2 separate regions of the Homo sapiens genome follow, and region 1 is linked to region 2. The links are contacts of gene promoters, found by promoter capture Hi-C in human tissues and cell types (Jung and others, 2019). All regions are on one chromosome and are shown on one strand. Each heading gives the region's core, a stretch centred on a gene start or on the middle of the fragment in contact. The rest is flanking DNA. Distances are from core to core; before and after follow the strand shown.

The links. The method cuts DNA at HindIII sites, captures the fragments that hold promoters and counts their contacts. A contact is called where the count stands out against the background at its distance.
Region 1: a fragment that was not itself captured here is called in contact with the fragment with the promoter of PSMC3 in region 2 in 3 of the 25 tissues and cell types used here (dorsolateral prefrontal cortex, liver and thymus).

What each region holds. Positions count from the first base shown.
Region 1 is chr11:47,533,640-47,538,435 of GRCh38, forward strand. All of the region lies in intron 1 of CELF1 (CUGBP Elav-like family member 1), which reads right to left. Among named protein-coding and RNA genes, the nearest start is that of CELF1, 17 kb to the right of the region's middle. The HindIII fragment of the contact is 4,129 bases long and covers 292-4,420 here.
Region 2 is chr11:47,423,461-47,428,207 of GRCh38, forward strand. PSMC3 (proteasome 26S subunit, ATPase 3) reads right to left here and starts at 2,979. Exons shown (of 12, transcript NM_002804.5): 1 at 2,745-2,979; 2 at 2,407-2,490; 3 at 1,661-1,786; 4 at 1,147-1,251; 5 at 969-1,031; 6 at 586-723. The coding sequence starts at 2,819. RefSeq lists silencers at 2,606-2,817, 3,088-3,217 and an enhancer at 2,788-2,987. The HindIII fragment of the contact is 16,812 bases long and covers 1-4,747 here.

The sequences.
Region 1 (4,796 bases), core at 1,106-3,605, 110 kb after region 2:
ATACATACATACATACATAAATTAGCTGAGCATGGTGGCGGGCACTTGCAATCCCAGCTACTTGGGAGGCTAAGGCAGAAGCATCACTTGAACCTAAGAGGCAGGGGTTACAGTGAGCTGAGATTGCTCAAGTGCACTCCAGCCTGGGCAATAGAGCGAGACTCTCCCCCAAAAAAAAAAAAAAAAAAAAAAGGAATATTTATAACTATTTTAGTGACACTCTGTTGCACAATAGTTAAATATATTCAACTCTTAGTTTTTCCCCTCCCTCTTCATAAAAGCAGCTACATCAATATAAACTCAACTGAAGTTTCTATGACCTATGTATGCTGCTATTTCTTTCCAGACCACAACATAAGTTATATTTAGCATTTTTTCTTTCCTTTTTTTTTTTTTTTTTTTTTTGGACATAGAGTTTCACTCTTGTTGCCCAGGCTGAAGTACAGTGACACAATCTCTGCTCACTGCAACCTCCGCCTCCTTAGTTCAAACTACTCTCCTGCCTCAGCCTCCGAAGTAGCTGAGATTACAGGCGCCTGCCACCATGCCCGGCTAATATTTTGTATTTCTAGTAGAGATGGGGTTTCACCACATTGGCCAGGCTGGTCTCGAACTCCTGACCTCAGGTGATCCACCCGCCTTGGCCTCCCAAAGTGCTGGGATTACAGGCATGAGCCACGGCGCCTGGCCATATTTAGTATTTTTTCTATCAAGATTTCAATGTTTTCCAAAGTTCAAGAAATCTCAGCTTCTCTACACAATTATGTTAGAAATATATCAGACACAAAATTATAAAAATAAAGCTGGCCGGGCGCCATGGCTCATGCCTGTAATCCCAGCACTCTGGGAGGCCAAGGCAGACAGATCACAAGGTAAGGAGACCGAGACCATCCTGGCTAACATGGTGAAACCCTGTCTCTACTAAAAACATACAAAAAATTAGCCGGGCGTGGTGGTGGGCAACTGTAGTCCCAGCTACTCGGGAGGCTGAGGCAGGAGAATGGTGTGAACCCAGGAGGTGGAGCTTGCAGTATGCAGAGATCGCACCACTGCACTCCAGCCTAGGCGACAGAGCGAGACTCCATCTCAAAAATAAATAAAATAAAATAAAATAAGCCAAGAGAAGTATAAGTTCAATCTCCAAGTATGCCTCCAAAACTGTAGTGTGTAGATAAATGTGATGTTAAATTACGTTTAGGGAGATGAACTGCCACTCCCAGCTAAATGTGTGTTGTCACTCAGTTCCCTGGAGACCCATTCTGTTAGAAGATATCTTAAGAAAACAGATCATTTACAAGTCTGATCTGTGGATCTGTTTTTTTCAGAAGTGGAACAGTCAGAATTAGAAAAAAAAAAATTTTTTTCCCTAAGTTGGAAGCTTTCTGGAAAAGGGTTAAGTCTTTCCATAGATCTAGCTTAGCCCCAGAGCAAACTTATACCAGACAAATGAACATTAACAAAAACAGCACTTGATTTCACAGTAATAATCTAGAACTTCAGCTACCCTACGCCTGATCCATAATAGTTTGAGCCAGAAAAGTACCTGGCACAAATTTCAAGAGTATCCCTCACACTAATAACTACTGAAACCTAAATATAAATTCCATTTAAATGTGTTGAAAACCAAACTCAGAACCAATTCATACAACAAATTCACAAACCAAAAGAAAAAAAAAATGGTTCTATGGAGATAAGATATACCATTAACTACCGTAGGCAATAGTTATTAAGATACTCCACAAACATATTATGTCTTGGGCTGGGCGAGATGGCTCACACCTGTAATCCCAGCACTTTGGGAGGCCGAGGCAGGCGGATCAGTTGAGTTCAGGAGTTCGAGACCAGCCTGACCAACATGGAGAAACTCCGTCTCTACTAAAAATAGAAAATTAGCCGGGCATGGTGGGGCATGCCTGTAATCCCAGCTACTCAGGAGGCTGAGGCAGGAGAATCGCTTGAACCCGGGGAGGTGGAGGTTGCAGTGAGCCAAGGTTGCACCACTGCACTCCAGCCTGGGCAACAAGAGCGAAACCCCATCTCAAAAAAAAAAAAAAAATAAATCATGTCTTGTTTTGCTATATTTACTCACCTAAGCTTTCCTGTAGCATGCCCACAAGTTTTTTTGTTTTTGTTTTTTTCTTGAGATAGGGTCTTGCTCTGTCGCCCAGGCTGAAGTGCAGTGGTGCAATCTCGGCTCACTGCAATCTCCACCTCCTGGGTTCAAGCGAGCCTCCTGCCTCAGCCTCCCAAGTAGCTGGGATTACAGGCGTGTGCCACCGTGCCCAGCTAATTTTTTCTGTTTTTAGTACAGACAGGGTTTCACTGTGTTAGCCAGGATGGTCTTGATCTCCTGACCTTGTGATCCGCCCGCCTCAGCCTCCCAAGGTGCTGGGATTATAGGCATGAGCCACTGCACCCAGCCCAAGAGTTTGTTTTTAAATAGTTTCTGGCCAGCATGGTGGCTCAAGCCTGCAATCCCAGCACTTTGGGAGGCTGAGGCAGGTGAATCACTTGAGGCCAAGAGTTTGAGACCAGCCTAGCCAACATGGCAAAATCTCATCTCTACTAAAAATAGAAAAATTAGCTGGGCATGGTGCCAACGGCCTGTAGTAGCTCTTCTGGAGACTGAGGCACGAGAATTACTTGAACCCGGGAGGCGGAGGTTGCAGTGAGCCAACATTGCACCACTGTACTCCATCGTGGGCGACAAGGCGAGATTGTCATAAATAAATAGATAGATAGATAGACAGACTGATAGATAGTTTCCCAATGCTATCTATAACCCAAATTAGCTCAGTAAAGAGGTTTGCAAAGCTTTTTAAAAAACTGCATTTGTAGGCCGGGTGTGGTGGCTCATGCCTGTAATCTCAGCACTTTGGGAGGCCAAGGTGAGCAGATTACCTGAGGTCAGGTGGAGTTGGAGGTCAGCCTAGCCAACATGGCGAAAACCCGTCACTACTAAAAAAAATACAAAAATTACCTGGGCGTGGTGGTGCACACCTGTAATCCCAGCTACTCAGAAGGCTGAGGCAGTTACTTGAACCTGGGAAGCGGGGGCTGCAGAGCTGAGAACACACCACTGCACTCCAGCCTGCGTGACAGAGTGAGACTCCATTTCAAAAAATAATAATAAAAAATAAAAATTGCACTTGTAAATGTATGCAGAGACTATTAAACAGAAATAGCACGCAATAAAAACAATGAATATATAATAAACATAATGTCTTTCCATAATTATTTCCCATCAGCTTGAAAGGGGAAGTAGGAAGGACAAGTCCACAGTATAGTTTTGGCACATGAGTTTAATATCAAACAGCCTAGAAACAAAAAGGAGAAAACAGGACATGACAGGAGGCAAACTCTTGGATGCTTTATTCATTTTTACTAGTGGTTTACTATTTCCTTGATTTTATTTGGAAAAGCATGTCTTGGCCCAGAAAGGCAAGAGTGCAGACTGCCAGCAATATCAGATTATCCTTTTCTTATTCTTTGGAGCTACTGAAAACTGAGCCAAAATCAGAGTTGTCTAGGAGCCTTCTGACTGTTCAGGCAATAAAAATTACGAAGTTTCAAGATCAGAGCTCCACAAGGTTTTTACCATACAAATTTTTTTTTTTTTTTTTTTTGGGACAGAGTCTCACTCTGTCGCCCAGGCTAGAGTGCAGTGGCGCCATCTTGGCTCACTGCAGCCTCCACCTCCTGGATTCAAGCAATTCTCCTGCCTCAGCCTCCTGAGTAGCTGAGACTATAGGCACACACCACCACATTCAACAAATTTCTGTTATTTTTAGTAGAGACGGGGTTTCACCATGTTGTCCAGGATGGTCTCGATCTCCTGACCTCGTGATCCACCCGACTCAGTCTCCCAATGTGCTGGGATTACAGGCGTGAGCCACCACACCAGGCCTACAGTACAAACCTTAACCATAATGTCTTTTGATGGAAAGCTGCTTACATTTTTTTTCCAGATAACTCCTTGGAGCTTTTAAAGTACTCCATCTTCAGAAGACAATGACTTAAATTCACAGAATTAAAATGTTAAGTCTTTTTCCTATTACTAATCCTTAATACTGAACTGTTCCAAAACATAAAATTAAAGTGCCATTTGACTAGACATGGAGTAGTCAACAAATAATTACCAGATATCTACTTTATGCAAGGCCCCAGTACTTATGTAACACTATAGACTGTAAAATTTCCTCTATGCACAGCACTGGGTTTAGTACGATACACACAACACATAAAGGCATAATCATTTTGTTTTCTTTTTTTTCTTTTCTTTTTTTTTTTTTAAAGAAAGGTGTTTCACTTTTTCACCCAGGCTGGCTGGAGTACATTGGCACAATGATAGCTTTCTGTAACCTCCTGGGCTCAAGGAGTTGAGTCCTGCCTCAGCCTCCCAAATAGCTAGGACTACAGGTGTGCACCACCATGCCTGGCTAAATAATTTTATTTGTAGAGACAGAGTCCCTGTATTTGCCCAAGCTGGTCTCAAACTCCTGGCCTCAAGCAATCCTCTTGCCTCAGCCTCCTAAAGTGCTGGTAATGCAGGCATGAGCTACCATGCCTGGCCCATAATATTGTTTAGATATATTTGCAATCATCATTTGATCTCTGATATCAAATAATATCTTCTAGCTTTTTCTATCCTACATTATCTATATATGGAAGACAGAATCTTGATGTTGGCTGTGTACCAGGTTGTATATAAATCTCCATTTTGGCTGGGCGTGGTGGCTCACGCCTCTAATCCCAGCACTTTGGGAGGCCCAGGCGGGCAGATCACGAGGTCAGTA
Region 2 (4,747 bases), core at 1,729-4,228:
TCTCCAGGAACGGGAGTATATGGCAGAAAAGACACCGGGCCAGGGGCTGGGAGCAGTGGCTCATGCCTGTAATCCCAGCACTTTGGGAGGCCAAGGCACGCGGATCACCTGAGGTTGGGAGTTCGAGACCAGCCTGACCAACATGGAGAAACCCCGTCTCTACTAAAAATACTCCGCTAAAATTAGCCAGGCTTGGTGTCGCATGCCTGTAATCCCAGCTACTCGAGAGGCTGAGGCAGAATTGCTTGAACCCGGGAGGCAGAGGTTGCGGTGAGCCGAGATCGTGCCATTGCACTCCAGCATGGGCAGTAAAAGCAAAACTCCATCTCGGAAAAAAAAAAAAAAAGGACACTGGGCCAAGAACCAGGAGCCTGGGCTCCAGTCCTGGCTCTGGTCTCTCTGTGATCCTGGGCAAGGCATTTAAACTCTCTGGGCTTCAGTCTCCTCACCTGTCACATGGCACCCCTCCCTTCCTCCCTAGGTTGCTATGAGGATGAAAGACACATTAGGGAGATGAGCTGCATCAATGGCGTGGAGAAACTAAAAGGCTGACAAGGCTGCTGGCAGCTGCCGTGCCTCCCTCACCTCCTGGATCTGCTTGTCCAAACCCCCAATGTCACTGTATTGCTCCGTGGGCCTCTCGTCTACCTCCATGGCCTTCACCCGCGAGTCATACTCTGTGGGCAGCGTCTCCAGGATCAGATAGGAGTCTTTGTTCACACCCTAAGGACACAGCACAGGGCCTTCAGATTTGGCCCAGCTCAAGGGCTACCCAACTGACTGGGTGACAGGTGTCTGCAGAGGGAAAGACACAGGACTGGGCAATACAAGAATCAAACAGCAAGTAGACAGAATCCCAGACTCTCGGAGCTGTTCTGCCAAGATTCAGAGCCAACAGTGACCTGGGGCGGGTACAGGGGCTCAGCTAGTCACCAGAAAAGCACTGCCTGGGCTCAGGCCCCACTCACCACCAGGTCTCCTGGCTTTAGCTTTTCAGCATCCACCAACCCAATCACAGGAAGGAAGTACGTCTGTGGACAAGTTACAGGGGCAGTCTCAGTTAGTGTCCTCAGGGAAGGCTCCCTAGTCCTGTCCCACATCCGCTCCTCACCCTCCTCCAGTCTCTCATTGCTGAGCCACGCTCACCTGTCGTGTAGAGGTTTTGATCACAGCACACTTGCCCTTCCTCTGGGAGTCCAGGTCAATATTGGCACCATCCTCCTCTTGGTCATTAGGATCAACATCCAGGAGCTGGGAAGGAAAAAATACTCAGCTCCTTGAACTCCCCAAGGCCCAGTGCTTCCTAAGACAGTTCCTAATACCTGCAGGGCTGGCCATCCTTACCTCCCTCCTCCAATAGCCCTGAGCCCACCAAACGTGGGTGCCCCTGCTAAGCCCAGGGATTGATCTCTGTGTAGGTGCTGCTCCTCTGCACAGGGCTCATCTACCCCGGAGGAGACATAACCAACAGAAAAGGAGACACGTGAGACCTCCCAGGACTTTGCAGGCCCCGTCTTCCCCATGAAAGTGCCCCAGGAGGTGTAGCTCTGACATGCAGTTTGGCCTCAATACCTCCACCCACTCTTTCCCTAGTGGCCCCACCCCAGGCTGTCCCCATTCCCTGCTGACTCCCTCTCTTCCCCTCCACATACACACACACCTCGATGACGTTGGAGACAAGGTACGGCAGGGTCTTGTTCACTTTGATTTTCTCACTGTTCTCTTTTATCTTGTCCTTCATGGCTTGGAGCTCATGGGTGACTCTCAACACTTCACTCTTCATGATCTGAGATCAGGAGGGGAGGAGAAGCAAATATAAACCCTGGCACAGCTTATGCTAGAGCCCTGTAACTAGTGAGGTCCAGGGTGCCCAGGGGACCCTCCCGCATCCATTCATCCAGCTCTGAGGCTCTCTGAAGGCAGAGTCTGACTGTGTCCACATCCTGCAGAAGTCAAAAGAGGAGGCCAGTTTGGAAACCTCCTGGTGAAATAGTGGTAGTATTGGAATAAAAGCAGGCCTCCGAGAGAGGCAAACATAGGTTTTAGGTTCTGCCTCATAGTAAGAACTGGGTGCTTTATCGCAGTACAAACCTCTCTGGGCCTGTCTCCTCATCTGTAAAATAGGCATTTTACTAAAAGAAGGATTCTTGAGAGGATTATTCCCAGTTCTCACTGGGAAAGGCAATCTGATAACTTCTCATCTCAGCCCAGGCCTCCCACCACCCCCTACCTGTCTTCTTGTCCCTTTTAAGGCTTAGTTTTCTTTCCTCTCTTCCTGATATGAGGGGGAAGCCCGAGCCCCATGTCTCCCCCAGGGTGCCCGATTAGGAAGTACGAGAGGCGACTCGGATCGCCGGGGCCTGTCCTGTGGGGGCTCCATCGCCCGCACAGGAGCTGTGCGCCCACCTTGATCTCACTGTCCAGCAGCCGTGTGCGCTGGATGATCTCCTCCGTGGACATCTTGAGCACCTCCTCCCCAATTCCATCTTGCTGTAAAAAATTATTTGTTTATTTATATATTTACTTTTACTCAGGACAAGCATCCCTCGTTCTCCGAACCCACTCACAGCCTCAGTTTCCACGCCCATAAAACCAGGATGGAGTCAGGACCCCTGCCCACATCCCAAACAACCCCGTCCCCGGGATCGGGCCAGACCTTGACCCCCAGCCACCTCCTTCCCTCTTGTCAATGGCGTCTCCCTGCGGGCCCCGGTTCCCGGACCGCCAGCTCGCCCGGTGCCCACCTCGGCCTCATCCCACACGGTCGCCATCTTCTCCTGCCGAGTCACTGGACTCTCAATATTCGGCAGCAGATTCATTTCCTGGAGGAGCGGGCAGAAGATGGGACCAGGCGGGAGCCGCAACGGGAGATTAATACCGTCTTTCTTAAAGCCTTCTCTTGACCAGTGGAAAACCTCTCCCCACAAATCCCGACTCTTGACCCGACCAGCTCCGGCCGTGCTGCGGAGCAGCGAATCTGCCTCTCCGATTCCAAAGACCAACCCCTGGCCACAGGCCCCGCCCCCGCGGACCCCGAAACGTTCCCGCCCGCGTCCTATTTTTGCCGGGCGCGAGAGGTGGGGCCGCTATTGGCCGACACGCGCGTTGGGGGCGGGGCCTATGTGTAAAACCGGAAAGGGAGGGAGAAGGGTGGGATCCGCGAGGGCCTTTGGGAAATGTAGTCTTTAATCTGGCCCGTGACAGATGCTTGCGGAGGGGCGCGTTCAAACTCAGACCGTGACCCCGCTAGGAATAAGGGGATTTACACAATGACACTGCCTCCCAATTAATAAACGACATAGGCCAGCCGTGTGCAAAGGGCCAAAAAGGCATGCCACCTCAGTCCGCATTTTTACAATTATTTAAGTACAAGCTGGCCACCCGGAGTTACGGGAGGGAATCATTAACCAGCTTTAAAGAGAAATCGCTGCTGCTCCTAACGTCAGAGCAGGCTTCACGGAATTGTCCACGTGGGAAGAACTCAATTGACCATCAGCCTCTACGATTAAAAACATTATGACTCGGGCCGGGCGCGGTGGCTCACGCCTGTAATCCCAGCACTTTGGGAGGCCGAGGCGGGCGGATCACGAGGTCAGGAGATCGAGACCATCCTGGCTAACACGGTGAAACCCCGTCTCTACTAAATATACAAAAAATTAGCCGGGCGTGGTGGTGGGCGCCCGTAGTCCCAGCTACTCCGGGCTGAGCCAGGAGAATGGCATGAACCTCGGAGGCGGAGCTTGCAGTGAGCCGTGATCGCGCCACTGCACTCCAGCCTGGGCGACAGAGCGAGACTCCGTCTCAAAAAAAATTATGTCTCGTATCTGCAATTGTTTGTTTTCTCTGACCATGGTTAGTAATCTCAGTGAGCAGAGCGGGTCTCCGGATCATGGGAGACTCATTCGTTGTACCCTTGTCGGCTATTTTAAATGATCTCTCCTTATCCTTTGAGGTGAGCCCTGGAGCCCCTTTAAAGGGAACTTCATGTAAGCAACATAGCTTATATTTCAAGTCAAACCATCACAAACACTCTGTTAACCTGATGAAAATCTGTGCAATCGTTGCCTTTTTTTTGTTTGCTTGTTTGTTTTTTGTTTTTTGAGACGGAGTCTCGCTCTGTCGCCCAGGCTGGAATGCAGTGGCGCGGTCTCTCCCTACCGCAACCTCCGCCTCCCGGGTTCAATGGATTCTCCTGCCTCAGCCTCTCAAGTAGCTGGGATTACAGGCACCCACCACCACGCCCAACTAATTTTTGTATTTTTAGTAGAGACAAGGTTTCACCATGTTGACCAGGCTGGTCTCAAACTCCTGGGCGTAAGTGATCTTCCTGCCTCAGCCTCCTAAAGTGTTGGTACTATAGGCATGAACCACTACACCTAGCCTTTGCAGTAGTTTTTTTTGGAACACGGTTGAAAGCAGAATTTTTTTCTTTAAATAACAACATGTACAGCTGCTCACTCAGGCTGACAAAGCGTCTCCTCAAGTAACAGTGCTTTATTCCATTCTCTCAACAAGCCTGCCTTGTGGACAGACTGAATTACCATTCTCAAATTTAAATAAGCATAGGGAGGCTCAGAGAGGTTAAGTGCCTTGCTGGAGGTTATTCAGTGAGTCACTGGCAGCACTAGGACTGCTGACCCCAAATTCTCACTTTGAGTTGCCCGATAGGAGCCAAGAAGCCCAGAGGGGAAAGACTGTCCAATCTGTGCTGGTCCCACTATGCCTGGGTCAGTTGGGTCCCATTCTG